Linked DNA regions of Homo sapiens: regions 2 and 3 are each linked to region 1. Evidence: promoter capture Hi-C in 16 types of primary human blood cells and fetal thymus (Javierre and others, 2016). All regions are on one chromosome and are shown on one strand. The core of a region is centred on a gene start or on the middle of the fragment in contact, and the rest is flanking DNA. Distances in the headings are between cores, read along the strand shown.

Region 1 (3,400 bases), core at 901-3,400:
TGTACTTTTTAAGTACGTTTTGTATGTTAAATATTGCAGAATGTATTTTATAAAGTATTTAATTACCAGAAACTCTTTAAAAAATTCCCAGGCCTGTTTCAGACTCAGCAGATCAGATTGCAGAGGTGGGGCCCATGAATCTGCCCCTTTTGTGACCCCGATAGTCACTACTGGTCTAAGCCAGGGCAAGGCCACCCCGGTGGAGGTTGCTTCCTTCATGCTGTATTATGTTTTTCACTTTACAAGTAATAATGTTTATCCATCAGTTCCCCAACTTTGGTGCTGCTGTGTTATCTACCATGCAAGGAGATGGGGAAGCAAAAGTAATTAAGACATTTCCACTGGTTTCAAGGGCAAAGGTTAACTCCAATATAAAGGAGTTCTAAAACTTTTCAAATTGGACATATTCACATCTATTGTCTTGATACCAGTGTTTCCAAATCCTTTTTTCCCAATGCCCAGAACATCCACAGATCACTGCGTCTGTCTGGGAACTTCACAGGCTTCTTTCCGGAGACATTCCAGACACGCCCCTCTGCCTTGGCATGAATACTTGGCATCTCCCCTTGACATCTCAAGCTTTGTCATTTACTCACTGTGTGACCTTGGGCCAGTAGTGTCCCTTCTCTGAACCTCTGTTTCCACCCCTGCAAGTTGGGCAGATGAAGGTTCAGTTTGAAGCTGGTTGAGCCCTTGGAGTGACAAAGCAAGGGACTGTGAATGGACAAAAATGAGAGAAATAAATTCTAATAGGCATGAAGCAACCAGGGGAGAAATAGTCCCAATTCTACCCAAAGACTGATGGGCACTAATTTAGAATCCAGTCTCAATTCTACCTTCAATACGGTGTGTGACCTTGAAAATGTCTCTTAATCTCTCTGAGCCTCATGAGTCAAATCAGGATAATGTTAATACCTGCTTCAGAGTTCTGGTGAGGAGCAAATGAAATAACTCCTGTAAAGATGTTTCAGGAATTCTGTCTGACCAGGAAAAAGCCCTTGGGGCCATTTCTTCTTGGTCCCTGACAAGTGCCAGGCTGACGAGCAGAACTCAGGGTGGGGCAGGAAGTCAGTGGACAGTTTTGTGCCCCACTCACTGCAAGGTGGCCTCCCAGACTTGGCTGGATGGGTGAACCTGGCCTGAAAATCAACCACAAGCCCCTTTTCGTTGTGTTTGGAGAGGAGCTGAAGCTGTGTGAATAGGAGTTGAGCATGCGGCTGGCAGAGCAGGCAGGACCCACAGAACACCTGGGCCCACTGCCTGAGGGACAGTCACTCCCTTCTTCATTTGGCTGCTGCCCTGGGATCAAACGGATACAATAGAACCCACGGCGCACGGCTGCCAAGGAAGGGCAGGCCCAAGGGATTGGGCTCCAAGTCCTGGAAGTGGTTTCCCAAGTCACTAGATTTGCAGCGCACAAAACCGGAAAGGTCCCGGTAAACCTGTCCACTGGCACCTGGGCAGCGAAGCGCTTTGGCCGGAGGGCCTCAGGTCCCAGCAGCGGGATGGACAGCGGGGAGATGGCTGACCCTCCTTGGGGTGGTGTGCGTGACCTGCATGAGTGCCTGGGGCATCTCCTGCACGGAATGGCACCCGCACCAGGTGCCCCTGGCCTCGCCAGCCAGAGGACCAGTCCTGGACGGGGAGGGGGAGGACAAGAGCAGGTGAACAGGCCCCAGAACCCGGCTCCCTGACCCTGGCCATAATGCAGAGCTGCCTGGCGCACCTCAGACCACTCCCTGGCCCTCTGGTGGGCACGCCGGGGTGCAGACCCCTCGCCCCGCTGGCACCTCCGTGGCACGTGCGGGAGGGGCAGGAGCCGGGACCAGGAACCGCTGTGGTGAGAGCCAAAGGCACGGGGACTGGCCGCCACAGACCTTTGGCCACCGCAGTGGGGATGGGGGTGGGCGGGCGCTTGTGTGCCCGGGGGCCCGGGGGCCCCCGTGGCGGGGGGGCTAGGGGAGAGGAGCAGGTGACGTCACCCGGGGACCTGGGGCCCCCAGGGGCGGCGGCGAGAGCCCGACCTCGTGACCCGTCCGCGCCAATGGCCCTGCGGTCTCCCGGACGACGCGGAGGGGTCCGCGCTGCACCGCCGCCGCGCCCCCGCCCCGTGTCCGCACTGCAGAGAGCCGCGGCGAGCAGGCGCCGGCGCACTGGCCCACGTGCTGCGCGAGCGAGGGAGAGCCACAGTCTGAGCGAACGTCCGCGCTGGGAGCCAGGGGTGCCCGACCCCCGTCCGCCGCCGCCGCCGCCGCCGCGCATAGCCCCCGGAGAGCCCTCTGGGGACCCCGACCAGAAGGGACCTTGCCCTGGGAGAAGGTAACAGACCCACCTGGGGAGGGAGACGCTGGGCCCCGGGAGACTCCGCCGCCCCTCGCCTGTCCGCCCTATCAGAACTGAAGCAGCCTGCAGGGCAGGGGTCCAGGGTCCTGGGGCAGCGCGGGGAGGGGGCTGAGGCCCGCAGAGACCCCACGGGGGGTGGGGGTGGGGGGCTGGGCAGGGGCGGGGCCTGGCTGCAGAGGCGCCGCCCGGGGAGGAGGGCGGCTGGGGGTGGGGGTGGGGGTGGGCGTGGATGTGGGCGTGCGGAGAGGTGGGCATTAACCTCGCTCTCGCCCTGCTCGCATTCACAGGCTGTGGAGACCTGGGCCTTCTGCGATCACCCTAGGAGTTGATCCAGATATGTGCCTCACGCCCTGATCACTCCCCCCAAATTAGTATCCGCAGAGATTCGAGGACATGCCGTTGACCTTGTTACAGGACTGGTGTCGGGGGGAACACCTGAACACCCGGAGGTGCATGCTCATCCTGGGGATCCCCGAGGACTGTGGCGAGGATGAGTTTGAGGAGACACTCCAGGAGGCTTGCAGGCACCTGGGCAGATACAGGGTGATTGGCAGGATGTTTAGGAGGGAGGAGAACGCCCAGGCGATTCTACTGGAGCTGGCACAAGATATCGACTATGCTTTGCTCCCAAGGGAAATACCAGGAAAGGGGGGGCCCTGGGAAGTGATTGTAAAACCCCGTAACTCAGATGGGGAATTTCTCAACAGACTGAACCGCTTCTTAGAGGAGGAGAGGCGGACCGTGTCAGATATGAACCGAGTCCTCGGGTCGGACACCAATTGTTCGGCTCCAAGAGTGACTATATCACCAGAGTTCTGGACCTGGGCCCAGACTCTGGGGGCAGCAGTGCAGCCTCTGCTAGAACAAATGTTGTACCGAGAACTAAGAGTGTTTTCTGGGAACACCATATCCATCCCAGGTGCACTGGCCTTTGATGCCTGGCTTGAGCACACCACTGAGATGCTACAGATGTGGCAGGTGCCCGAGGGGGAAAAGAGGCGGAGGCTGATGGAATGCTTACGGGGCCCTGCTCTCCAGGTGGTCAGTGGGCTCCGGG
Region 2 (3,406 bases), core at 406-2,905, 190 kb after region 1:
GCTAATTTTTGTATTTTTTGTAGAGATGAGGTTTCACCATGTTGCCCAGGCGGGTCTCAAACTCTTAGGCTTAAGCCATCCACCTGTCTCAGCCTCCCAAAGTGCTGGGATTATAGGCGTGAGCCACATCACCTCGATTGTTTTTCTAATTAAAAAATATTTTAAACCTGAATTCTCATTGGCTATGTGAAGTCTGCATGACTTCTGAACTTTTGAAAGCCATTATCTTTTCTTATGTAAATTTTCATTATCCTTTAACCATTTCAAATAAATTAAAAACTGGAAAGACAGAAATTCAGCCAAGCTACATGAGACTCTAATAACTAGTGCAAATCTGGCTTGTGTTATGTAATTTCAAAATGGATGTTTCCTTGTGTCTAACTGACCTTCTGAGGTCCGTGTTTGGTTGTTCAATTTAATAATTGAGGAAGTGCCATTATTCAGATCAAGAATAATTAGACACTGGCAACAAAACTTCTTTTTCTGAGTTAGTGTTATGAAGAGAATGTGGTTTATGTAATTAATCAGCCTTTGAGGCCAAATGGCTTGTCATTTGGCTTTAAAATATATTCTAGCTTTGAAAATACACAGATGTTGGCTGAATGAAAATGGTGGCACATTACTTTTGACTGCTTTAGAAGACTGAAAGCAAACAGCTTGTTTGGAAAGTAAAAAAGCCAGAACCCAGGGAGAAGCACTACTCCAAGCACTGCCAAGACACCATCACCTTGGTGGTGTACTTACAATCAGATGACCCTGTGTGAGCGAGTTTGTCAGTGAATGTGTTGAGTGGATATGGGCTGGGTCTGGAGACTAAACAGCTTCAAAGTTCTGGCAGGGAAGGCCTAGCTTGGCGCTGGAGCCACCTGGCTGAGTAATCTCATTTTGCTCAGATGCCTTCTGCTTTTCAGGTGTCTCGGGCTTCTTCCTGCAATTAAACAAAGGGCCCTTTGAAGGAACTGACTGCATATTTGGGAAGAGGCGTTTTAGAATCTTTTAAAGATAACTTGATTTTTCTTTTTCTGAACGAGTATGGGAGGTAGTCTAATATGTCCCTTGTTTTGAAACAAGATGATTCTTGGATTTTGTTTTTTTTGTTTTTGTTTTTGTTTTTTTTTCCCCCTTCAGTAAAGGCCCAACTGGGAACACAGCACTACATTCGCACTCTGTTGGCTATATAAAAAGACCCTGTCCCAGAACTTTAGAGAGTGTGAGCTACGTATGGCTGACATTATCCAAGAAAGCATCCCTTCTTACCTCCTTAGCAGTTTTAACACGGTCTGGAAAAATACTAGTGGAGGTTTACTGTTCTAGAGTTTGTCAGGAAGCTTCAAAACAAGATTCATGGAGGAACGGGAGGAACACTGGACTGGGAGTCAGGATATTTAGCTATGGAACTCGCTGTGCCTCTCAGTTGCTGTCTGGCGTTGGGCACCTCACTTTACCTCTTTGTGCTTCAGTTTCTTCATCTGTCTAATAAAGGGCTTGTGTTAGAAGGCCTTCAAGTTTTCATCCAACTTTAAATTTCTACTTAATTAAGTCGAGCATTCAACTTTTGTGCTGTTATTTTATTTTAGATTTTATTTTAAATCGATACATAATTTCAAATTACAATTTCAATTTGCAGGCTATACAGATGAAGTGGTAGTGGTGGAGGTTTTTCTTAGAGTAGCAAGTGAAGCATGTAAAGAAGAGCTCAGACATTTATGCAGCCAAAAGACACATGAAAAAATGCTCACCATCACTGGTCATCAGAGAAATGCAAATCAAAACCACAGTGAGATACCATTTTAATAAACATTAAAATGTTTTCAATAGCTAAAATAAACATTAAAATGTTTTTTAAAAAACATTTTAATATTTCAAATAATGCTTTGCTAACTATATGGTTGATTCTAAGTTATGGGCCTACCATCAATGCATATTTTCCAGTATTCATAAGGGAGATGTATTATTTTACAAATATTTTACAAATCAAGCTTACTATCTATAGTAACCAATTAATAAGACAGCTCATGCATCAAGCACACTTTCATCACAAAATAGAGCAAAGCTTTCAACACATATCTGCTTGTATGTATGATCCATAGAGAGGAGACAAAACTGAAGTATGACACGGTTAAGAGTTTGTCCTTTTACATAGTTAATTTAACTGATAGCTGAGGTATCCATTTAAAACTTAGATGCTTGATAGCTGAGGTACCCATTTAAAACTTAGATGTTTTTGGTTGTGATCACACGTCTCTCACATGCCAGCAAAGTTGTCTGAGTTCTCCACTACAGAGGTTATTAATGTAAACATAACAATAAGAGGCTATTTTAGAGGCCTCAGTTTGCACTGCCCACCCCAAGAAAGAAATGGGAAAGTCTTATAAAATAACTAGAATAAGAAAACAGCAATGGATATGAAAAACAGATATATCACTTACTATCTGACACAATGTGGAATATATATTATTTGTAAATTATTTTCTCATATTCCACAGTGAATAAAGTAAAAGCATTACTCTGCCTAACCACTGTGTGTACCATCCACTTCACTCAACAGCTTAAAAGGGTAAGGAAGGAAATCGATGGAGCTGAATCACACTCAATCCTTATGTGGCATCCTGGATAGGAGAACAAAGCATTAAATAACACTAATGCAGCCCCCTCATTAGCATTTCTTGCTATAAAAGATATATGGCTGACAACAATGTTCTTGAATTACAAGTATCTCCCAGACACCTACAAAGCTTTCCCACATATTTTGAAATTCATTCCTGGAAGAAATTACTTTTTTTTTTTTCACTAGGTGTGAATAAGATACCACGCTTGTGTTGTAGGGCATGCCTGATGCCCAGTGTTTTAAACACAAAATGTGCCACGAGTCAAAGTTGATTTTTCTGAACTTACTTTACTAGGAGGCACAATTACATTAAACACATTACCACATGTCTTCCTCATCTGTTTCTGCAAAATGACTACTTTCGGGATGGCTGTGCATTCCTGAATTCCGTGCTGCACTGAAAATTTGAAAAGGCAAACGTTTTTAGAGGAAGGATGCTATTGTGGACATTTTTTCACATGGAAATGTACTATTTGTGGGTTTGTATGGCTGTTTGCCAATTAAAGCTTTAAAGCAGACCTATATACATGGAGTCCCTTGAGCCCTGACCATTTTACAGAGACATTTTTGCAAGCCCTCCAGGACTGAAGTCATAGATAACCATGCACTGCGGATCAGACTCCTTGGACGTCACGGACTGCACACATCCAGAAGAGCAGCTCTAAGGGCATCTGTAACTCTGCCGTGGGGCAGGAGCTTCCCATGGGAAACCTAAAGCCCTTGAAACTGCTTTAGAAACCTAGGGCTTCTTAGCATATGCAAGGTGGGCACCAAAGTAACGAGGGTGCCACGGGCTGC
Region 3 (3,204 bases), core at 599-3,098, 240 kb after region 1:
ATATTTTACAGTTAAAATGGTACTATGATAAAAAAAAAAAAAAAACACAGCACAGAAAAGTTCTCTGGGTTAAAGAGATAGGAACTAAAGAAACACATAGCATAAGGTAATGGGCAAGTCAGCAGTCATGGGATCCAGTAAAAAATTAAAGGAAATTTCTGTGGGCCTAAATGGCATCTGTTCACATCAGGAAGCCAGGAGCACACCTGGAGACCAATGCTACTAGACCACCCTCCTTGGTAGTGTCTTATGGTATGTTAAGGGGGGCTGGAGAATAAACCCTTTGTATGCCTATTTACCACAACTCCCTCCCAGCACCCAGGAAAGGGACCTGCCATTGTTGCCCATAAAAGAAGCCAGAGTCTCCCTTCTCTCTCCTGCTTCAGGAGGAGGCACTGCCACATCTTGAGGCAAGAACAATGATAAAATCTACAACACCCTATTGTTCTTAGACAGTGGAGCCTCATTCCAGCATCACTCTAATACCAAAACCAGATAAAGACACAACACAAAAGGAAACTGCAGGCCAATATCTCTGATGAACAGAGGTGCAAAAATCCTCCAAAAAAATGCAGGCAAACCAAATCCAACAGCACATCAAAAAGATTATTCACCATGATGAAGTGAGATTTAGCCCAGAGATACAAGGATGTTCCAACATAACAAATCAGTAAATGTGATACAACACATCAACAGAATAAAGGACAAAAACTAAATGATCATCTCAATATACACAGAAAAAGCATTAGATAAAATTCAACAGCCCTGCATGACAAAAACTCTCAACAAATTAGATATAGAAGGAACATACCTCAATGCAATAAAGGCCACGTATAACAAACCAACCCAAAACATCGTATTGAATGGGGAAACTTAAAAAGCTTTTCCTCTAGGAATTGGAACAAGACAAGGATGCCTACTCTCAACACTCTTGTTCAACATAGTACTGTAATTACTAGCCAGAACAATTAGGCAAGAGAAATAAATACACAGCATCCAAATTGGAAAGAGGAAAGTCAAATTGTCCCTCTTTGCTGATAACATGCTCTTATATACATACATGCATATATATATATATAAAGATTTCACAAAAATACTCTTAGAGCTAAAAAATGAATTCAGTAAAATTGCGGGATACAAAATCAACATACAACAGTTAGTAGCATTTCTATACACCAACAACAAACTAGCTGAAAAATAAATCAAAAAAGCAATCTCATTGACAATAGCTACAAAAACAATCAAATGCCTAGGAATAAACTTAACCAAAGAGGTGAAAGATTTCTACAAGAAAAACTATAAAATATTGGTGAAAGAAATTGAGGAGGACAGCAAAGATAAAAGGCACCAGTATTAGCCCATTTTCACGCTGCTGATAAAGACACACCTGAGACTGGGTAATTTATAAAGAAAAAGAGCTTTAATGGACTCAGAGTTCCACGTGGCTGGGGAGGCCTCACGATGATGATGAAAGGTGAAAGGCATGTCTTACTTGGCAGCAGGCAAGAGAGAATGAGAGAACCAAGTAAAAGGGGTTTCTGCTTATAAAACCGTCGGATCTCATGAGACTTATTCACTACCAGGAGAACAGAATGGGTGAAACTGCCCCTATGACTCAATTATCTCCCACTGGGTCCCTCCCACAACACATGGGAATTAAGGGAGCTACAATTCAAGATGAGATTTGGGTGGGGATACAGCCAAACCATATCAGCATCCCATGTTCATGGACCATAAGAATTAATATTGTTAAAATGACCATACTACCCAAAGTGATCTACAGATTCCATGTAATCTCTATGAAAATACTAATGACATTCTTCACAGAAGCAGAAAAGGCAATCCTAAGATTCGTATGGATCCAGAAAAGACCCCTAATAGCCAAAGCAATCCCAAGAAAAAAGAAAAAAGCTGGAGGCACTACACTACCAGATTACAAAATATACTACATAGCTATATGCTATTGTCTGGATATGGTTTGTTTACCTCTCCAAATCACATTTTAAAATTTAATCCCCAGTGTGGCGGTGTTAGTAGGTGGGAACTAGTGGGAGGTGTTTTGGTCATAGGGGCAGATCCCTTATGAATGACTGGCTGCCACCCTCGTCTTCACAGTAGTGAGTGAGTTCATGCTCTATTATTTCCCATGAGAACTGCTTGTTAAAAAGAGCCTGGCACCTCCTTCTCTCTGTCTTGCTTGCCTCCTCTCACCATGTGATCTCTGTACATGCCAGCTCCCCTTCCCCTTCTGCCATGATTGGAAACAGCTCGAGGCCCTCACTTGACGTTAATGCCAGTGCCATGCTTCTTATACAGCCCACAGAACCGTAAGCCAAATAAACCCCTTTTCTGTATAAGTTACCCAACCTCAGGTATTCCTTCATAGCAACACAAAGGAAATAAGGCACTGTAGGAACCAAAATAGCATGGTACTGGCATAAAAACAGATAAATAGACCAATGGAACAGAATAGAACACCCAGAAATAGAGCCACATATTTACAGCCGACAGATTTTTTTAAAAGCACCAAGAACATTCACTGGGGAAAGGACAGTCTCTCCAATAAAGGGTGCCAGAAAAACTGGATCTCCATATGCAAAAGAAAGAAACCAGATCCTTATCTCTCACCTTATACAAAAACCAATTCAAAATGGATTAAAGACTTAAACCTAAGACCCAAAACTATAAAACACTACTAGAAGAAAATATAGGGGAAACACTTTAGGACATTGGTCTGGGAAAAGAATTTATAAATAAGACCTCAAAAGCATAGAAAACAAAAGCAAAAGTAGACAAATAAGATTATATCAAAATAAAAAGCTTCAACACAGAAAAGGAAACAATCAACAGAGTGAAAAGACAACCTACAGAATGGAAGAAAATATGTGCATTCTGTTCATCTGACAGGGGACTGATATCCAGAATATACAAGGAACTCAACAGCAAAAATACAAATAATCTGATTTAAAAATGAGTAAAAAATCTTAACAGACATTTCTCAAAAAAAAACAGAAATAATCAACAAATGTATAAAAAATGCTCAACATCACTATTCATCAGGGGCATGCAAATCAAAACCACAATGAGATATCGTCTCACCCCAGTTAGAATGGCTATATTGTCAAAAAGACAAAAAATAACAAATGCTGATAAAGATGCAGAGAAACCAGAACTTTTATACACTATTGGTAGGAATGCAAACTA

The links. Contacts are between HindIII fragments. The CHiCAGO score rates a contact against its expected background, and 5 or more counts as called.
Region 2: a fragment that was not itself captured here is called in contact with the fragment with the promoter of PNMA3 in region 1 in 10 of 17 cell types (M2 macrophages, non-activated CD4 T cells, total CD4 T cells and 7 more); the score reaches 9.0 in M2 macrophages.
Region 3: a contact is called between a fragment that was not itself captured here and the fragment with the promoter of PNMA3 in region 1, in 5 of 17 cell types (activated CD4 T cells, M1 macrophages, naive B cells and 2 more). The highest score is 6.5, in activated CD4 T cells.

The regions. Positions count from the first base shown.
Region 1 is chrX:153,054,320-153,057,719 of GRCh38, forward strand. PNMA3 (PNMA family member 3) reads left to right here and starts at 2,151. Exons shown (of 2, transcript NM_013364.6): 1 at 2,151-2,319; 2 at 2,631-3,400. The coding sequence starts at 2,737. The HindIII fragment of the contact is 3,087 bases long and covers 578-3,400 here.
Region 2 is chrX:153,248,375-153,251,780 of GRCh38, forward strand. No RefSeq gene overlaps it. Among named protein-coding and RNA genes, the nearest start is that of PWWP4, 16 kb to the right of the region's middle. The HindIII fragment of the contact is 651 bases long and covers 1,331-1,981 here.
Region 3 is chrX:153,297,836-153,301,039 of GRCh38, forward strand. No RefSeq gene overlaps it. Among named protein-coding and RNA genes, the nearest start is that of PNMA6F, 22 kb to the right of the region's middle. The HindIII fragment of the contact is 1,939 bases long and covers 880-2,818 here.